Regions from separate parts of the Homo sapiens genome. Here region 1 is linked to region 2. Evidence: promoter capture Hi-C in human tissues and cell types (Jung and others, 2019). All regions are on one chromosome and are shown on one strand. The core of a region is centred on a gene start or on the middle of the fragment in contact, and the rest is flanking DNA. Distances in the headings are between cores, read along the strand shown. Region 1 overlaps ABCA8 (ATP binding cassette subfamily A member 8). Region 2 holds the start of ABCA8 (ATP binding cassette subfamily A member 8).

Region 1 (6,522 bases), core at 2,700-5,199, 48 kb after region 2:
TGTATTGAGCTGTCTGGAGCTGGCAGAGGGGTGACACAAGCACCCCTGTGGCCACCACCACTAGGATTATGCTGGGTCAGATCTAAAGCCAATACAGCACTGGGTCTTTCCCAAGACCCGCAGCGACCACTGCCTGGCTACCGCCAATGTTCACTCTAAGCCCAAGGGCTCTTCAGGCAGCAGGTGGCAAATACAGCCAGGCCTGTGTCCTTCCCTTTATGGTGGCAAGCTTCCCACTGGCCCAGGGTGGGTCCAGAAATGCCTTCTGGGAGGAAGGACCTGGAGTCAGAAATCTTAGGAATCTACATGGCACTGTATTCTGCTGCAGCTGAGCTGACACCCAAACCAGAAGACAAAGTCTTCCCACTCTTCCCTCTCCTCAAGGAGAAGGAGTCTCTCCCCCTAGTCACCACTGCCCCAGGCCTGCAGCGAGTACTGCCTGGCTACCACTGATGTTCACTCAAGGCCCAAGGGACTTCAGGCAGCTTGTAGTACATGCTGCCAGGCCTGGGTAGCAGCTCCCTTCAGGGCAATGGGCTCCCCTCTGGCCTGGGGCAAGTCCAGATCCAGGAGCCAAGGCCTAGAATCCAGGACCCCAGGAGTCCGCTTGGTGCTCTCTACTCCACTGTAGCTAAGCTGGTACCTAAGCTGCAAGACAAAGTCCCCTTTACTCTTCCCTCTCTTTTCCTCAGGCAGAAAGTCTCTCCCCACAGCCATCACAGCTGGGAATGTGCTAGGTCAAACCTGAAGCCAGCAGAGCACTGGGCCTCACCCAAGGCCTGTGGCAAGTACTGCCTGGCTACTCCTGGTGTTTATTCAAGGCCCAAAAGTTCTTTAGTCAGGAGGTGATGAATTCTGCCAGAACTGGGTCTTTTTCTTCAAGGCAGCAGGTGCCCTTCTGGCCTAGGGTATGTCTAAAAATGTCATCTGGGAGCAAGGGCCTGGAATGGGGTCCTCAGAACTCTGCCTGGTGTCCTATTCTGCTGTGGCTGAGCTTGTATGCAAGTTGGAAAACAAAATCCTATTTACTCCTCTCTCCTCTCCTCAACAGAAGGAGGGAGTCTCTCCTGGAACAGCGAGCTGCACTGTCTGGTGTTGGGGGAGGGGGTGAAACAGGCACTCCCTTGGCTGCTCCAGCTGGTGTCTCTCGAGGTCTTTTGCACCCCAAGTCCATTGGCTTTGAGCCCAGAACAGCATCAGGACTTGCCCAGGAATTTCAGTCCCTGTGGTCCTACGTTTATTTAGATCCCCAGAGCACTTTAGTCCATGGTAGTGGGATGAATGCTTCCCCTCTGGCTAAGGCTGGTCTAAATGCTCCCTCTGTGGGCAGTGGCCGAATTCTGCCCTACGTTGCTTGTCACTGTGACAGGCAACACTGAGTTCCAATGCAAAGTCCCACAATGACTGTCCTCTCCCTCCCCCAAGCATACAACATTCTCTCTCTGTGCCACACAGCTGCTGCCAAGGATGGGAAGTTGTGTCAGCAATTCAAGACTGTCTTTCCTATCCTCTCCAGTGCTTCTTTCCTTATATGATGTTAAAACCACTATCATTGCTCACCTGATTTTTTTGTTCTTATGAAGGTGCTTCCTTGTGTGGACAGTTGTTCAATTTGGTGTTCCTGGGGGATGGGAAGATTTCTGGAGGGTTCTATCTGGCCACCTTGCTCTACCTCCCCTCCTAAATCTTCTATTGTTTAAAATAGAAGTGTTGTTACTTTTATTTTACAGATGAAATTACAGACTCCCTAGATTAAGAAGTGCTGGAATCAGAAATTGAACCTGAATATTTTTAAATTCTAAATCTAGTAGTCAAATCCATATTTTAAACTACTGTTTTTGTTACATGATTGGTCGTTTTTGTAAATTTATACCATCTATACTTAAGAAAGAAAACAAACCTATCATGACAACAATACAAAGAAAATAGGATGACAGTTTCCTTAACTCATCTGCACTTGTTTAAGTCCTAGAAAGTTATTTGAAAAATATCTCATGTAGATATTTTTCCAGTTCTGTGTAATGTCCCAATTTTTTTTTATTTCTTATAGCACTTTGTTTGCATCTCTTCTTGGAAATTAATTAAACTATCTGAAAGTCAGTGTTTCCACCTACAAAGTGAGAGTAGCAATTCCTACTTACAAGTAAAGGTTATAGAAAAATAAATAAGAGACTGCCTGGCACACTGCATGGAAACATAACATGTTTTCAAAATAAAAAGTGCTAGTCAGGATCCCTGCCCAATTTGCGAGTCCATTCATGGACTCCTATTTGTGCAATTGCCTTATTTTCTTCTAATCTAAGGGCCAACAAATTATAGCTCATGAGCCACATCCAGCCTACTTCCTCTTTCTGTAAATACAGTTTGGTTGGAGCCCAGTCATGCCCTTTCTTTTACACACTGCTCTGGCTGTCTCCATGTTACAACAGCAGAGTGGAAGAGTTTCAACAGAGTTCTAACAGCCTACAAAGCCTAGAAAATTTACTATCTAGTACACATTTTACAGAAAAAGTTTTACAACCTCCCCTTTCAAGCTTCAAGTTCCTCAAGGAATGACTTTCTGCATGACTCATTCATTCCGCCCCAGCACTCAGCACAAGTTCCTACAAGTGGCCAAGGAATAATTCTTAAATTGTTTTCATTTCAGGAGTCAGCATCATGGAAAACAGCTACGACATTTTTTGCTTCACTCTTCCAGTGGATTTCACTACTTCTAAAAAAATAGCATATATTCTTTTAAGTTCATACATGACTTATGTGTCAGTGGAATAATTTTTGACTTATGCATTTGGTCAAATAAAATTGCTACCATTTTTAAGGGCTTGTCAAGTGCAAACTTCACTATTATTCCATTGTTCGAATAACCCTAGAGGCTGGGAATCATTATTCCAGTTTTCTAATAAAGTAACTGTTTAGATAAGTTAAATAACACGTTCCAGATGCTAAAACAATATTTCAAAGCCAAGTCACTACTGATATTTTGCCCACTGTATAATTTATAACCTCAATTAATAGAATATTGTGTTTGTCTGTTTCTCTATAATGGAGAAATAGCTGTGGTATTTTTCAATGGATAGACTGATTTTCTCAATGATACTTTGTTCTTATTCAAAGTTCTGGGCTTAGCATTACAAGAAAAGCAAACCACATTCATCCATTATTAGTTTCTATCTATAATCCAGTTTCCTTCATAGCACTTACTACTATTGATAATTATTTTACTCATCTGGTTGTCTACATGTTTTCTTCCTGACGCCCGCACTAGACAATGAACTCCATAAGAGCAGAATAATGCTGCTTTAGTCACCATTGTATCCTCAACACTAAGTATGATGTTTGTCACATACTAAGAACTTAGTAAATTTGCATTGGATGACTACATTGAGTAACTGAAACTGTTTGGCATCTATACTTCTCACAAGTCTCTTGTTCCTTTGAAGCGATACAACAATTCTATTTAGTCAGCTTAAAACTGAACCTTCAACTGCAACGTTATCCATTTTGCATAGTCCTGACCTTTGCTGTACTGCAACCCTGGTATTTTCCACTCTGTGACCACCCTCTCTTCAGGAGCTTCAATCAATATGAAACTTCTCTGGGCACTACTCCTGAGTAACCTCACCAGTAACTCTCATTAGCTCATTCTTTTCTTTTGTCCATCACATTTATATGATTTGGCTGGGTTTTTGTCCTCTTATTTCTTGGGTTTTTGTCCTCTTATTTTGTGTTTGTCTGACCTATTTCTGGCATTAGATTTTAATTGATTTTCTTTGTCCTATAGAGACTAGTTAATTATTTTCTTGCTATTGGAGACTATGTCGAGTAACATATGTCTTTTTTTTTTTTTCTGAATGCCAGCTTGCAGTTAAATGAAATATGTGTTGAGGAAAACATAACATCACTTGTTAAACAGCACATCCCTGATGCCAAATTATCAGCCAAAAGCGAAGGAAAACTTATTTATACATTACCCTTAGAAAGAACAAATAAATTTCCAGGTAATGTGCATGAACACTGTGAAATAAAATATGTGAATAATAGTCATCATCATCATAATTATTATCATTACAACTAACATTTATCAATGTCTTACAGTATGCTCAGGTACTGAAACATAATCAAAAGAATAGTACAATAACTGAATTATTTTCTGTATAGTGGGAAATAGAATTACATTCTAATAGTTGTATTGTAATGCCTGGGCATTTTAGAGGGCTTCTTTTAGTCCTTCTTCCCTAGTAGTGTGTAACATAATATTCTAGTATTCATAAATGTACACAAACCCAAATGGTTGAAAACCTCTGGCTTATGCACTACATTAAACAGCCCTGTGATGTGGCTATCTGTCTCGGTGAGACTTTTGCAATAACTTTGGGTTTTTCAGGCTAACGCATAAAAGTTTACTAACTATGTTTGTTGTTCAGGGAACTTGTTCCTTAACAATGGGGCACTATAAGGGCCCACATTAGTGGTTGAAACAATTAACCTTGCTGTATATGTGGTTAACAAAGACATATACATTCATTCAAATACACATTTTATGGTGACAACACAAGCATTCCTTAGAATCATCAGGAAAGTGTTACGCAAATTCTGATTAGTACTTTTTAACAGTAATTATAATTTAAAGAAAATTTGTAGACGTTTTAGGTGGAATGAAGAATGATGCATAATACTCATTATTAGCTTAAATCTTACTTCTTTTCTACCTTTCTGTATGAGGTATTCTAGTCAAGACAAAAAGCTTTTAACCTATCCTTTTGCCCAAGCAGGAGCTCCAGATGGAAGCCTCAGGACTTCTGTAATCACCCTAGTATTAGAATTAGGTTTTTATTTAAGCTTGATTTAACCACTGTAATTCAAATCCATGCAGGCAGGGGCACTGTTCACTGCTTCATGAACAATGACAGATGCGTAAGTATATTTTGGTGAACGAACTAAAGAATGAATAGATATAAAATTGCTAGAGCGAATAATCACTGTCACAATTCCAGGAAAATTCCCTGATTCAGTTCCACATTCTCTGCCTGTTAGGTCTTGTGAATTTTTTCTTCCATTGTTAGAAACAGAAAATTTTTTAATGGTTTATATTCTATGTCTTCTCTTTAACAAATATTTTCTAAACTACAGAAGATTCTACACCATCCAATTAATTCTCAAAAAATTAATTCCTTTCCTTTTGTCAGTTAGAACATAAATGGCTCCCATTTATATCTGTTCTCTAGAAAAGACTTTTCAATTAATTAGGCTTAGAGTTGAAAAACCCAGAGTCTCACAATTAATTAAATTTTAAAAGGAAGTCAGAAAAAACTAAGATTAAACTTTAATAGAAATGCAAATGAATATAAATTAATGTTTGACAAAGTAATATTTGGGTTGTAACACATGATGTAAAATAGAAAATAATATATAGAATTTGCAGAATAAGATGATCTATTATGAAATGTTAATTTTCAAATGTTTTTGACATATCACAAGTATAGTTTCATAGATTTGTGCTTATTAGTTTGAAAAATTGTCTTCAGTTCACTTGTGATTCTTGTTTTAATTCACTGCTGTATATGTATTCTTTAGAACTTTACAAGGATCTTGATAGCTATCCTGACCTAGGAATTGAGAATTATGGTGTTTCCATGACAACTTTGAATGAAGTATTCCTGAAGCTAGAAGGAAAATCTACAATTAATGAATCGGGTAAATAAAATGCATGAAAATTATTATGTAAAAGCACATATTTCAAGAACACACTGTTCCAAAGATGTGATTACAAAATGTGGGGTTCATGATTAAGGCTCTTCTTAGACAAGCTTGTGTAAAAATGAAACGCATCCCTGTCAACATTGCTTTGTAGTTAAAAATAATCCATTTTTCTACATCCAAGGCTCACTGCACTCATATTAGCTCTAGGCTTCTAAGGGCAATTTCAGATAAAACATTTATTCTAAATCATAAATTAATATAAAACATGAACCCACAGATCTAAAACACTTAAGAACCCCAAACAATACTTTAAAATGAAACTATTAAATTCCTGTAGGCCAGCAATAAAGAAGAGAGTCTTAATTAGACATATTGTACTGTTCCACAGATATCAGATTCTCTGGTGTCAGGTTTTTCTTTTTTTTTTCTTTATGTTAGAAATTGGACACTATCTATCCACCTATTTTCAAGGTCACAAATAACTTATTCTCTTGTGTTCAGACTGTTTTGAAGCCGAACATAATAAACTCTCTATTTCTGATACTGCACTTTTTCATTCTAACATTTTCATTTGTTCTTTTTTAGAGTTTCAGTTCTTTACTATTTCTCATCTGCTCTCAATATTGTCCATATTTTCCAGTAGATCTTGTAACATATTTATCATAGTTATTTTTAAACTTGTGTATTTTAATTCTAACATGTGGACCGTGTGACTGATGACCGTTATCAGTAACTGACTCTGATTTTTTTTCCTCTTCCCTATGGGTTATATTTCCCCGCTTCTTCATATGTCTTGAAATTTGTATTTTATCATGGATGTTA
Region 2 (6,160 bases), core at 2,056-4,555:
ATATAATATATAAATATATATAATATATAATATATATAATATATAATTATATAATATATAAATAATATATATAATATATAATTATATATTATATATAATTATATATTATATATTTTATATATATATTATATATTATATATAATTATATTATATATTATATATTATATATAATTATATATATATTATATATTATATATAATTATATTATATATTATATATATTATATATATAATTATATTATATATTATATATTTATATAATATAATTATATATATATATAATATATATAACCAGCCATTGAATGTGTTGCCATTAGAATCTAAAGAGACATCACAGATGCTGACCTTTCTTCTTACTGGTTGAGGCTGCAAGATACAGTAATTTTTCTTTCACTTTGAAGGAGATAGGCAAAGCACCCCTAGCCACTGGATCCATAAAACCTTTGCCGAAGTGAAAACCTCCAGAATCTTCACAGGGTTTATCTCCCACTTTCTAAAACATGTGTACTACCAAAACCTCCAGCATGCTAGTCACATCTTGCTCATCTTGTCTGATCAGCATGATGCCATCAATGTGTCAATATGATATTCTGTGGATGTCTACATGGTCCAGACCTCTTAAGACTATATTATAAAAAAAGCTAGGGGGTCAATAGAGCACTGAGGGAAAACTGTAAAGAAATAATATTACCTAATCTATCTGATTGTGCACTGTTTTTGATGCTCTTTTCTAATCAGAATAGAGAAGAATGCATCTGACTAATCGCTGGCTAAAAATCATGTATCTGCTCTAGGAATAGATACCATGTCTGACAAAGCAACTCTAATTAGGACCACTAGTTGTTTGAGCTTGAGATAGTCTAAGCATTCTCTAGAATCTTTCTGGCTTCTGCAAGGATCAGGCTGGCAAATTAAATTAAGGTGTGCTAGGCACCACTACCTTTCATCCTTATGTCACTATTTGTGGCATTGGTCTCTGCATTTCTTCTCCCCATGTGGAATACTGTTCTTGATTAAGTGTCATGGCTGGGGATAAAGTTGGGAGAATTGTCAAAGGTGCCCACTTTCCCTTCTGCATTATGATAGTTTTTACCCTACAGGCCAAGGACTCAGCATGGAAGTTATTCTAACTACTAGATATGTCAATTCTAACAGCACATTTGGTGACAGCAAAATCACCACTGGGTATGTCCATAAGTCCAGTGAGACGAGGCAGAGCTGCTTGTTAACCGGAACTCCATTTACGACCTTGGCTCTATATTCTCAATCTAGCTGTAGGGCCTTAGTGTGGGTTGCAGTTATCAATGTCCACTCTGACTTTATGCCCAACAACCCTTGACATGTCTGGGGATTTTTCTTTCTTCAGTGTATAATCACCCAAATAATGGCTTTAGGTCCCTTTGAGGGAGGACTAGGAAGTATAATCACCACAGTATATACTTGTCAAGATGTTGCAAGATCTTTTCTTCTAGGGGTCTGACTAGTTTTTTAATCAATATGTTCTGTATCTGAAAAGTAGCTTAGGACTAGGAGCTGAGCAAGAGATCATGACTTTTTATTGGGGTGATGGAGACCATGTTGAGCCTCTTACTCCTCTATTTCTTCCCCTTCTGGTTATATAGTTACTGAGCAGCACCCTTGTTGACCTCCTTCCTATTTTGTCTGTATATCATAGTAAGGTTTATATATTTCACTTAAAATGAAGAAATATTAATTCTGGGTAAAGCATGTCAAGTTAAGTATGTCTTTTGTAATCCTGAGAGTGACCACTAAAATAACTATACAAATAGATACAGTTAAGAAACATAATAGATACGTTGAAATGCAATACCAAAAAATAATTTCAAATAACCAACAAGAAAGCAGAAAATGGGAAATAGGAGAATTAAAACCAGAGAGAAAAGAAGCAAATAACAAAATGGCAGATCTGATTTTAAAAATCAATAGCTACATAAAATGAAAATAATTTAAACACACCCATTAAAAGATGTGCATTGTCAAATTGGATTTTAAAAACCAAACTCATGACTCTATTATATGCCATCTACAAGAAACTCACTTGAAATACAATTTAGAGCTGGGTATAGTGGCATGTATCTGTAGTTTCAGCTACTCAGGAGTCTGAGATGGGAAGATCACTTGAACCCAGGAGTTCAAGTCCAGCCTTGGCAACATAGCAAGACCATCATCTTAAAAAAATAATAACAAACACAGACGCACACACACACATACACACACACGCATACACATATAATATGAATGTGATGTTTGGCAGGGCCAACAGAATTGAGATCATAACTGCCACTCTGAAAGCATATAGTGTGTGTGTGTGTGTGTGTGTGTGTAGATAAAAATAAACGGATGAAAACAAAATACCACGAAAACAATAATCACAGGAAAGTAAGAATGGCTATATTATTAATATGAAACAAAGTAGACTTTAGAACACAAAAGTTACTAGAGATAAAGATTAACATTACATAATGATAAAAGGGTCAATTCACCAAGAAGACATAACAATTCCAAATGTTGCAAAATACATCAGGCAAAACATGATAGTTTTAAAGGGAGAAATTTGAAAGTCCCTAAGTTTTGTTAAAATCTTCAACATTCCTCTCTTAGTAATCAACAGAACTAGGAGACAGAAAATTAGGAAAAATATAGAAAAAACTGAACAATATCATCAACCAACTAAATGTAATAGATATTATATAATATTCCACTCAACACCAAAAAACTATACAACTTTTCAAGTGCCTATGGAATATCTGCCAAGATAGATCATATCCTGGGTCATCAAATAAGCCTTAACAAATTTGACATACAAAATATTTTTTCTGAGTATAATTGAACTTCTGATTTAAAATTAAATCAATAACCAAAAGATAAGAAAATCTTCAGACACTTGGAAATTAAGCACATTTCTGATTAATCCGTGGGTCAAATAAATTGGAAAATAGTCTGAACTGAGTGAAAATGAAGCTGGGAAGCAGAGGAATGAAAATTTTGATTATCTAGGTAAAGCTGTCAATTAAGCAGACTAGAGCTCTGGGTAGAGAGAAGAGCTTTTCTCTGATTAAGCTGTTTACTTTCTCATGGCTTAAAGACAGCACTTTAAATTTTGGTATTAGCCACAATAATCTTGGACGTAAAAGAGAAATTGCTCCCTATAATATGATATAGCCAGGCAACCCAGTATAAATGCCACTGCTCTGCAGGAACTGGCCGAATATCAATGAGAAGACAAACAGTCCAAGCATGATGACGTGAATGTGATGTTTGGCAGGGCCAACAGAATTGAGATCATAACCTCCACTCTGAAAGCAGTCTTCACAGAAACTTTTCACAGAAGTCAAATAGTTAAAGCAAATTCTAGATACATGGTAGAGACCAGGAGAAAATATGAATAACTTTCTTCTAAACAAGGAGCTCAGTGGATAAACCATACCTCTAGATTCCTTGCTTCCATTTTCCCAGAAGTAAGTTCACTGTATTTTTTCTGTTTTGTTTTGTATTTTGCTTTTGTGTGTGAGTTTGTTTCAGAGGTTTTGTCTTTTCTTATTCCTATCACAAAATTATAAATAAACCTTTATAAACTGAATGACAATCATCTATGCAGAAATTATTTTGAAAAATATTGGGCTACTTTAAAGATTTTATATCTGGTAATTAATATTAGATAAATAAAAACATTGAGTTAGAATGTTTTTTAAAAAATTATGCAAACATTATGTTGTTTTAAACATAACTGAGTGTAGAAATAAGTTTAAATTGGCTAAAAATTTTTTGTGAAGAGCTTAGAGTTTTAAGAATTGGGTTGGAAGACTGAGTTGTTTTTGAAGTTAAAGTTATCTACTTTGATTGCACAATAATGTAGGGCATTTTGGATAAGTGTTCTTCTGACTTTAAGACTGTTTACCAAGAGCACTTACAGAAATATTTTTATTGTTCCTATCGCTCACTCTTAGTCTATAAGAATTTTAGAAATGTAAGATTCTTTCTAGGATCTTTTACTCGTTGGATACAGTGAGTTGAATCAGAATGTGAAATATGTAGCTTCTCTTTACCACAATGTTATTTAAAATGTACATTGGTAAAAAGAATTTTCATACTCCTATAGTGAATACATGTTGTTCTGAATTTTACAACAGTATAAGAGGATAAAAATGAGTCATTACAATTTGAGACTATTTGCCATATGTATAATAAAGTATTCATGTTTTTGCTAGCCTTTACATAAACTGCAGAACATACAAAAATTGGAAAGAAACAAAGTTGGCAATAATACTTTACGATGGAAGATATAAGGGATTGGAGTCAGACTGGAGTTTGCATGCTACCTAAGACTGTAGCTGATTCCATAGTGAGGAGATCATCCTCTTGGCCAATGTCTATTAACTTCGCCAGTGAATTATGCATTTCTGTAGAGAAGCTGTGATATATTTGGGCTTGTGCATGAGGTGGAGTGTAGGGAAACATCACACTCTGGGGACTGTTGTGGGGTGGGGGGAGGGGGGAGGGATAGCATTGGGAGATATACCTAATGCTAGATGACGAGTTAGTGGGTGCAGCGCACCAGCGTGGCACATGTATACATATGTAACTAACCTGCACAATGTGTACATGTACCCTAAAACTTAAAGTATAATAATAAAACGAAAAAAAAAAAAGAAATTCCTCCTGTACAGAGCTTGCATTGGCGGCAGCTGCTTTAAGAACCCAGAAACTTTTGCCCTCTCTGTAGGCTAGCTCACTGTGAAAATATCCCATGGATTTTACCTAAAATTGCTTACAGAGAGCGGCATTATACTTCTATAGATAATTGCATCAGTAACCAGAGAGGAGAAGTACAGCAGCAGACTACCCTCTACCCCCGGTAGGAGTAGTAGCACATCACAGTTTCAGCAAGTTCAATCTTGAGCAAAGAACATGATGTGATTGTTTGTGGGTATGTCTGTATACGGAGTGTGATTTTAGGTAAGGAGAGCCTTGCACAGCTCTCTTAAAAGTATCCATGCTGAATTTTCTGCACCTTAACCTAGGCTGCTTTACTCTTGGAACTGTCTTTCCCTCTTCTCCTTCCATGGGCTCTCTGACCTCTTTACTTGGTCTGCTTCCACTTAGGCCTGCCCCTCAGCCTCATTGCATGGCCATGTGTAGGTTCTTCTTCTAGCAGTGTTCTCTGAGACTGCTGTGGCTAATGTGCCTTCTGTTGCAACTGACCCCTGGACACCTTACTTGAGATTTGGCTCTAGAAAGTAGCACCACCCTGTGTGTGATCCTGTCCCATAAATGAGATGATGGCTTCAGTTGGGGCTCATTCACTTCTCATCACTATGGAGGAGTTCATAGAAACTGCATGGCCAACATGGCATGCATACGGAGGGAGATCACTTGCTTCAGAAGTCAGGACTTATGAGCCAAATGATGGTCTTCAGGGTGGAGCTGCTGGCTTTGTGCTCAAAAGTCTGGACCCATTCTTCCAAGTCATGTCCTTCACATGCTTCCCAGAAAACTGATGATGGTACCTTCCAGAATCTCTTTACTTTCTATAATTCAGCTTAGGTAGCCTGTTTTCTCCCACGGCAAAGACCATTTGAAAGCACTCTAGTCCTACAGTTTTCAGGAGTGGCTTAGCAAATCCTATTTGTGTAGCAGTGGTTGATTGAAGTTCTGGAAAGATGTGGTGCTCTTATTATGCACTGAATTATCTTCTTCTGGGAAGTATTTTATGTGCCTGCTGCAATAAACTGTATGTATAAATTCCCCTACAAAATCACCCCCCATATACAGACATACCCAGAAACAATCACATCATGTTCTTTGCTCAAGATTGAACATGCTGAAACTGTGATGTGCTACTACTCCTACCAGGGGGTAGAGGGTAGTCTACTGCTGTACTTCTCCTCTCTGGTTACTGATGCAGTTATCTATAGAAGTATAATGCCACTCTCTGTAAGCAATTTTAGGTAAAATCCATGGGATATTTTCACAGTGAGCTAGCCTACAGAGAGGACAAAAGTTTCTGGGTTCTTAAAGCAGCTGCCGCCAATGCAAGCCCTGTACAGGAGGAATTTCTACACTCCACCTCCTGCACAAGCCCAAGTATATCAAAGCCTCGCTACAGAAATGCATAATTCATTGGCAAAGTTAATAGACAT

Evidence for each region. The method cuts DNA at HindIII sites, captures the fragments that hold promoters and counts their contacts. A contact is called where the count stands out against the background at its distance.
Region 1: a fragment that was not itself captured here is called in contact with the fragment with the promoter of ABCA8 in region 2 in 2 of the 25 tissues and cell types used here (dorsolateral prefrontal cortex and hippocampus).

Annotation. Positions count from the first base shown.
Region 1 is chr17:68,905,216-68,911,737 of GRCh38, reverse strand. It overlaps ABCA8 (ATP binding cassette subfamily A member 8), which reads left to right. Exons shown (of 40, transcript NM_001288985.2): 18 at 3,859-3,998; 19 at 5,575-5,694. Among named protein-coding and RNA genes, the nearest start is that of ABCA8, 47 kb to the left of the region's middle. The HindIII fragment of the contact is 5,133 bases long and covers 1,383-6,515 here.
Region 2 is chr17:68,952,537-68,958,696 of GRCh38, reverse strand. ABCA8 (ATP binding cassette subfamily A member 8) reads left to right here and starts at 3,305. Exons shown (of 40, transcript NM_001288985.2): 1 at 3,305-3,478. The HindIII fragment of the contact is 19,891 bases long and covers 1-6,160 here.